Linked DNA regions of Homo sapiens: regions 1 and 3 are each linked to region 2. Evidence: promoter capture Hi-C in 16 types of primary human blood cells and fetal thymus (Javierre and others, 2016). All regions are on one chromosome and are shown on one strand. The core of a region is centred on a gene start or on the middle of the fragment in contact, and the rest is flanking DNA. Distances in the headings are between cores, read along the strand shown.

Region 1 (2,700 bases), core at 27-2,526, 260 kb before region 2:
AAGAGCTCCAGGGCTGGTTTAAATGCTCCCCCCATGGGCAGGCATCAGCTGAGTTTGGTCTGGTTTTGTTTTCTGTTATAATAGGGCAGCACTGAGTTCAATGCCTCACAATTGCTGTGATCTCCCTCTCCCCAGAGCACAGAAATGTTGTCTGCACTTTGCCATTGCTGCTGGGGAATGGGGAAGGGGTAGTGTCCGCAATTCAAGACTGTTTTTCCTACGTCTTCAGCAATGTGAAGTTAAAACCAAGTACTGTGAATGCTCGCCTGATTTCTAGTTCTTATGAAGATGCTTTTTTTAATGTGTAGACAGTTGTTAAATTGGTGTTGTGCCATCTTGCTCTGCCACCTTGCCTATTTAATTTTTCCAAGAATCATTTTCTCCATGTGTAAGTTGGAATAATAGTAATATTTACCTCATAGTTGATCTTGAGGAATAAATTAGATTATATACACAAAATTCTTGATGCAGTGTCTGGCACATAGAAAATGAAACTTCTTTAATATATGCACACATACATACACATACCACACTTCATTGTCTCATCTTACATGGTTGACTCTTTCCTCCTTAATTAAAAAGAAAAGCTGAAAAAACCCTCATCTTTCCTAGGGAACAGAATGGTGACCCTCAACTGATTATTTATGCACTTGGGAAAATATTTTCTTCTCAACTCTCCCTTACCTTTTACCTTTCTATCCCCCACATCAGGAGCAGGAGAAGATCAGAGAAATCTGCTACAAAACCAAGGAGGTGAGGGAGAAGAGGACCAAATACTGACCTAGCACATGCTCACTCTTCTCACAGGTGACTGTGGTTATGACTGGCTAAATAATTTGTGAGATTCAATGAAAAATGAAAGTGCAGGGCACCCACTTAAAAAGTAATTGAGAATTTCAAGACAGAGATGGCAGAGCATTAAACCAAGCATGGTTTCGTTCTAAGCACGTGGACCTCTGTGACTGCACAGGCTATATGTTCATAACACTGGCCCTCCTGTCAGCCCTGGGGCAATGGAAGAAGGTGACAAGCTAAAGCTTCTGTTGTTAGTATGAAGCCAACTTGTCTGTTTTTTCCACCTCAGAGCCTAGTTAAGGCATGTGGGTTTATTACTTGGCTATTAGCAGCTCTCTGCCCCTGGAGCCTAGAACCTGGAAATATGAGGGGTCAGAGAGAGCCCCACTCTCACTTCTGAGAGGAATTAAAGAGAAATTGGGTTAAAACTATTCTAACCCAATCAATTTAATCAGTTTTTAGGAAACTCTCTTAGCTGTAGCAGGCAAGATCACTCACAGAGACAAAAATTACAGTAATGCTAGGCATTCGAGTCTCTCTTGCTCTCTCTGTGAGTGTATGAGTGTGTTTGTGTGTGTGTATGTGTGGTATAATGATGTAAATTTTTCACTTTCGTGGTCTATGTGTCAGTTACTTTCTTATGCTTAACTAAGTTTGTTAGATGCTATTCATGATACTCATGGGTGTTTGGAGGAAGATAAAATATGTACAAGGAATAAGGAAGCTTCAGAAGCTAACAATGCATATTAAAGACTTACTTGCTACTTTTATCCATTATATATGCTGCAAGGAAATTTGGCAATTAACTATAATTCTAACACATGGCCCAAACTGCCTATATATTCTTGTTTTACTGTCAGATTTGGGAGAGTGAGCCTGGGGACGCATCAGCAGAGATTTCTGGAGGAAATGTGGGGATAAATGGAGGAGGGAAGGAGGTTCAGAGGAAAGCTGCTAGATTCAAAGGTGGGTAGGGTGAGATGTAGAAGAGAGGTTTGGGGAGAAGATGAAAATGTAATGGGAGGCAGAGGACAGAGGAAAGAGGAAGAGAGAGCCCAGGAAGAAGAAAGTCTAGGCTGGAAGGCCCAGAAGTTAACCCATAGTAAGTTAACTTCTCAGGGAAGGAGGGCCATCCAGGTGCTTCTTAGATCTTTAGCAAGCCATTTTTCTGCATAGGTAGATAGGAAGCACTGAGGGGCCAGAGAGAGAACACTTCTCATTGCAGATCCCCTGGCTTGATCACTTCTTAACTCCAAAGCCTTGGGTGGGTCACCTCTCCTCTCTGTGATTCAGAGTACTCATATGCAAAGCAAGGAAGGCAAAGCAGAGGGCCTTCAAAATCCCAGGGTGAACCAGGCTGATATTTCTAGGAGAATCTGAATAAGTGAGATGGAGGAGAAAAGAGAGAGAGTGGAAGGAAGGCTCAGCCTGAATGTGGAAGGATGGAAAGGAGGAAGGTCATAGAATACAGAAGGACTGGTAGGGGGGCAGTTAAGTGTGGTCATTTTTGCCTATTATACTTCTCCTAATTTGTTTTTCAATAATAGATTTAGTAAGATATTAATATACCATAAAAATCTATCTTTTAAAGGTGTACAATTTGGTGGTTTTTAGTATTTTCACAGAGTTGCAGAGTTGTACAACCATCACAACTCTCTAATTCCAGAACACTTTCATCACCCAGAAAGGAAACCTTGTATCCATTAGGAATCACTCCCCATTCTCCCTGACCCTAGTCCCTGGAAATAACACATCTGTTCTCTGTCCCTATGGATTTGCCTATTCTGGACATTTCCTATAAATGGAATTATACACTATGTGTGTGTTTTTGTGAAAGGACTCTTAGCATTATGTTTTCAAGGTTCATCCATGTTGTAGCATGTCTTAGTACTTCATTCCTTTTTA
Region 2 (2,700 bases), core at 76-2,575:
TGCATCTTTTCTCAATTACTTTTACTTATCTTAAGTGGTAGAACTATATCTTTGAAATCTTTGCTGGTCAGTTCCCTTAAGAAAAGTGTTTCTGCAGTCACATTTCAACTCTTTCTCAGATGGACATATGCCACTTTATTCTCCCCAAAACTTAGAGTCTTCAAATTTAGCCAGAAATAGGCTAAATCCTGAAATAAATAAAGCATTTCTTATTTTCTTTTTGATCAGTGCTACGTAGTTAACTGTGAGGAAAGATTTTTTAGTAAAGAACAAAACTAATCTCCATTCCCAGTGTACCATCCCATTCTCTAGGCCCACAGCTTGGCCTGCATCTCAATGGGAAATTCCTGACAAGCATCAGGGGCTTCCCAAATAGATATGGGCTTTCTCATTCCTCCATGAAGTCTTCCCTGATCAACTCAATCTAAAGTCATTGTTCCCTGCTTTTGAGTGACTTAGGCATTTATTCTTCATACTACCCTTAAATAAATTCTTGATCATGACATTTTATAGCTAGAAGAAACATCATAATAAATCCATTCCCCTACCACCAGTTTTTTTAGATAAAGAAGCTGCAAACTAGAGAGATTAAATGTCTTTATCAAATTTATACAGCTGGTTATTAGGAGACCCAGAACCAGAATCCAGATCTTCTTACACCTAGCTCAGGGCCACTTCCCTCCTCAAAGACACACAAACCACCTGTCATTTACTTAATCCTGTCTTTCACTATTTTTTTAAGTCTTTTCCATAAATAAGACTATAGCTTGCATCCCATTCCTTGATATTCATTCATATTTTTACCTTTTTTATTCCACCAAGAGCTATAGCAGAGGGAAGGAAAAATACTCCACAGGCCCCTGTCAATTGGCTTAACCAGTTCTCTCTATCTAACAGAGTTCTGCAGCTAACATTTAGCATTTTCTGATACCTTTTATCTCAAAACCTTTAGATAAACTTCAAACGCCATGTCATGACAATATTAGAATTGTATTTACATTATGTATACACATCTCTTCCTTCCAACTATTGCTAACAATACTGAGTGACAATGATAACAACTAGAAAAACAAATAAATAGAGGATTATAGCAAATAGTAACCTTAGGTACAATTGCCTCCTTACCTCTAATTGGAGAAAAATAAAGATTAGCCAACTGAAGGAGCAAAGAAATAGCAACATAACTATTGAGCAAAAGAGCCACAGCTTCCAGGATGATCTCTGAGCTCCTTGAGTTCTTGAATGGCTTAAAGGCATATTTTCCAAGTGGCTCAAACACATTTTTGGAGAAATGAGAGCTGTGGAAAACAAAAATTCACAAGTGATGGGTGAAGGATGCAATGTCATGTTTTGTAGCAATATGGTAATTAGTAGTGGGTGTGGAAGGCGGAGTTTTCCTTCTGTCACTGTGTTAGAAAATGATACTTATAACTTAAGTGCTGACTCTCATTTGGCACCAGATCAAATACAACAAAAGGAACGGAAGGCTGAAAGCCAACACAAACTCAGAACATAAAAAAAAAAGCACAAGGGAAGTTCAGAGGGGAAAAAAATTTCTTTCCTAAATCAAACGGCAGTACAGTGCACGTGTAGAGGAGGCTTGGGAGAATAAAGTGGTGTGCTCTCATCTAAGAAAGTATTCCAGATTATTTCTAGATAAGAAAATCACTTTTTATAAGAAAAAATAAAGTTTGAGATTAATCCCCCTACCATACTCCAGATATCATGTACATGAGCGGCAGAGTGTTAGGAAGTTGGAGAGGCTAGGATCTCTAGTTTGGAAAAAATAGAGTTTTAATCAAGTCATCATCTTGTTTACCTTAAATACCCACAATTTTTATTTGTCAATTATACTTCAGTAAACCTGGAAAAATAAAATCTATACTCACAAAAATGTTTCATCAATTTCTAGTGTATAGAATGCGTTCATTCTGAGTCTCTAGAAAATATCAAGTGTATTACAAGAATTTAATAAAAAATTGTAAATACAACAAGCTCAATTTTATATTTCATCATTTTTAAACTCTGATAATCTAGTTCTGGCATAAGAAGTTATTTTACAGAAGGATATTTTCCTGCATCCTGCCCTCAGCCAGAGCTTATACTCTATTCCAAAAAAAAAAAAAAAAAAACCTTGGGTTTTCTTCCTGGGCCCAAAAATATGGGTTTACTACAAAATTGAGGAAGTCTCCTGGTTCTATGGACCTCAGTCACACAGGCTTTTAAATCAGACAGACCTCAAGAGCAGAGGCTGGCACTGCCCAGTTCCTACCTGCTCTGTGGCCTTAGGCATGTTACTTGAGTTCTCTGAGCTTCAGTTTCCTTCACTGTAAAATGGAGAAAATTTTCACTTTATAATGCTTTTGTGGAGAATGAAATGAAGGTGAAAAGTTTATGCATTCCATAAATGTTAGATTATCTCTTCTCTACCCTCTTTAGCGATGTAGTGAAGTTTAATTCAATTATTAAATCCTAGAAAAGAATGAACATTCTTTATCTTTCCCACAAGATAAAATTCACCTAAAGTTTACTTAAACAAAAGGAAGTACAATGAAAGTATTTTGGAAAACCTATTTTTTAATCTAAGAGAGAATTGACGATTTATAAATTAGAAAAAAGTCCAGAGATTTAACATCCTCCTTTACAAAAAAAGGAAACTAAGGACAAGAGGGTGTGAGTAGTGTCTCAAATCACTGCTGG
Region 3 (2,700 bases), core at 63-2,562, 280 kb before region 2:
TTGATTAAAAATAAAATAAAATTAATCAAGATGAATTGCTTACTTCTCTCCCTTAGATTTCTTTTATTTTGATGCTCTTATTCCACTCCTCTATTATCTTTATACTATATCTCTCTTTAGTAAACCAGAATGAATTGCTCAAAAAATTTGTTATTCAAATATGAGACATCTTTTAGTTTACAAATTATTTTCTTGAATTGCAACACATTTTCTTTTGAAAATGCTGTGGTAACTAATGACCCCCAAATCCAAGTGGGATATACAGGTTTGTTTCTTGCTCAAGTTACATGTCCATCATTGACCAGTTGAGGCTCTGGTCAATGTCATCTTCATTGTGGGACCCAGGATGCTGGTGTGGCCTCTAACCGGGATGCTGCTGGGCTCATGGGAGAAGGAAGTAGGGCCTAGTGATCACATGCTGTCTCTTAAAGTTTCTTCTTGTAAGTGAAAAGAAGCTTTTGAAGCTCCCCCTCTTAAATTCCCCTAAGAATTCCTTCCAGGGTTTATTTGACCCAAAGAGAGATCAGTCCTTTTCTAATGCTAGGTATAGGGAGAACTGGGCTTTGAACAGTATGTTGCCCATCACCACTTGGGGTTGCTGCTGAAGACAAGTCAGGTATGTCCCTCCAGTGCTGCTTGTCCACTGAAGCAGCATGGCCCTGGGTTGTCCAGACACCTCCATTTCTGAAGTGGCTACACTCAGTCCGTATGGATATGGCTTTAGCAGAAAGCACTTTTGGTTAACATACACAGACACATCCAGAGGCACAAGCTCACCAATACTGAGGTCTGGTTGGATTCCAATAACTATTACTCAAAGAGCCAATATTCAATGTTCTTCCCTGTTAACCATTATCATCCAAGTGGCAACACAGCCTTTTTAAAGCTTCTCAAAATTCAACATGTTTTATATCTTTTTTCCTGTAAAAATACTACCTTACTATAGCAGATAAAATGTAACTGTTCATGGAACCATTTTATTTTCTTCCTGGTCACATAGGAAGATTTCATTTTCCAGTCCTCCTTTCAACTAGGTGGAATCTGTGATGAAATCTGCCTAGAGAATATGGGCCTTACCTTTCCTGGGCCTTGCTATAAAAACTTTTCTGTGAGATCTTCCATGAGCTCTTTAACTATGTGTTTGGAAATAAGGATTCCAAAATGGTTGCATTGCAAGTTGGGAACAGCATGAGCCTTAAATCACTACTTAGAGGGGAGCCATCAGAAGAGTGATTAACCTGCATTGGAGCTCGTCTACATGAGAAATTTTAATTTTGTGAGTTTCTGAGATTTGGGAATCTACCCGTTGTTGTGACAGAGCCTATGCTTCTTTAACCAATATAGGTATTACTCAAGGCATTTTGCCCTCCCTCGATAATGTCACTCAACTTATCTGCATAACCAAGAAGAGCCTTTTACATATATCCACTTGAACTGAAACAGTTTGCTTTAGGGGGCCTTGTTTAATGACTCCCAGTCATTAAAGAGGTTGGCAAGTTATAGGACTTATATCAGTCAGCTTGGCTAAGTTATGCTGTGGTAACTAATGACCCCCAAATCCAAGTGGGATATACAGGTTTATTTCCTGCTCAAGTTACATGTCCATCACTGACCGACTGAGGCTCTGGTCCATGCCTTGTTCACTGTGGGACCCAGGATGACGGCGTGGCCTCTAACTGTGGTGTTGCTGGGCTCATGGGAGAGGGAAATAGAGCCTAGTGATCACATGCTGTGTTTTAAAGCTTCTGCTCGTAAGTGAAAAAACATCACTTCTGCTTGCATGTAATGAACCAAAGCAAATCACATGGCTAAAGCTGATGTCATGGAGGATAATACATAATCCTCCTACAGGGAAGGACATCACAGAAAGGGGAACTGGAATATTTGGAAGAATAGTAATGCCATCTATCACAACCCTCAAAGGACACTCTTCTTACTTTATGTCTTGAAAGTCACCAATTATTTTTATTTGATTATTTATTTATTTATTTGTTTTTTGAGACAGGCTTGCTGTGTCACCCAGGTTGGAGAGGAGTAGCACAATCATGGCTCACTGTACCCCTAATCTCCTGGGCTCAAGTAATGCTCCTGCCTCAGACTCCCTAGTAACTAGGACATAAGTGTGTGCCACCACACCTAGCTAATTTTTAAAATTTCTACTAGAGAGGAGGTCTTACTATGTTGCTCAGGTTGGCGCTGAATTCCTGAGCTTAAGTGATCCTCCTGCTTCAGCCCCCTAAAGTTCTGGGATTACAGGCATGAGCCACTGCACCCAGCTTATCCTATTATTTTTAAAAGGTACAGATTAGGTTGCTGGTGAGACCTTGCTTAATTTAAATTCTTTGGAAATATATCCTTCCCTAGCACGGAGTCTGGAGATAGGCAAATATATTAATGGAAAGACAAGAGTGTTAAATAACCCCAAACTTAGTGCTCCTCAAATAACCTTGTGAAAAAGGGATACTCAGCCACTCTCTGCTCCTTTCTTAGTCAGATGCTCCTTACGTTAGCCTCATGATATAACTTTCTTGGGCTGTATTAGTTTTCTATTGATGCTGTACCAATTACCTCAAATTTAGCAGCAGAAAACAGCATCCATTTATTATCTCACAGTTCTGTAGCTCAGAGGTTCAGGCACAGCACCTGAAACTGCTTTGAATCTCACAAGGTTGAAATAAAGATGCCAGCATCTGGGGATGA

The links. The method cuts DNA at HindIII sites, captures the fragments that hold promoters and counts their contacts. A CHiCAGO score of 5 or more calls a contact.
Region 1: a contact is called between a fragment that was not itself captured here and the fragment with the promoter of TNFSF18 in region 2, in 4 of 17 cell types (naive B cells, activated CD4 T cells, monocytes and 1 more). The highest score is 6.5, in naive B cells.
Region 3: a fragment that was not itself captured here is called in contact with the fragment with the promoter of TNFSF18 in region 2 in 4 of 17 cell types (M1 macrophages, M0 macrophages, M2 macrophages and 1 more); the score reaches 9.6 in M1 macrophages.

What each region holds. Positions count from the first base shown.
Region 1 is chr1:172,789,083-172,791,782 of GRCh38, forward strand. No RefSeq gene overlaps it. Among named protein-coding and RNA genes, the nearest start is that of FASLG, 130 kb to the left of the region's middle. The HindIII fragment of the contact is 482 bases long and covers 1,036-1,517 here.
Region 2 is chr1:173,049,616-173,052,315 of GRCh38, forward strand. It overlaps TNFSF18 (TNF superfamily member 18), which reads right to left and starts at 1,326. Exons shown (of 3, transcript NM_005092.4): 1 at 1,126-1,326. The coding sequence starts at 1,281. The HindIII fragment of the contact is 4,458 bases long and covers 1-2,700 here.
Region 3 is chr1:172,764,914-172,767,613 of GRCh38, forward strand. No RefSeq gene overlaps it. Among named protein-coding and RNA genes, the nearest start is that of FASLG, 110 kb to the left of the region's middle. The HindIII fragment of the contact is 856 bases long and covers 885-1,740 here.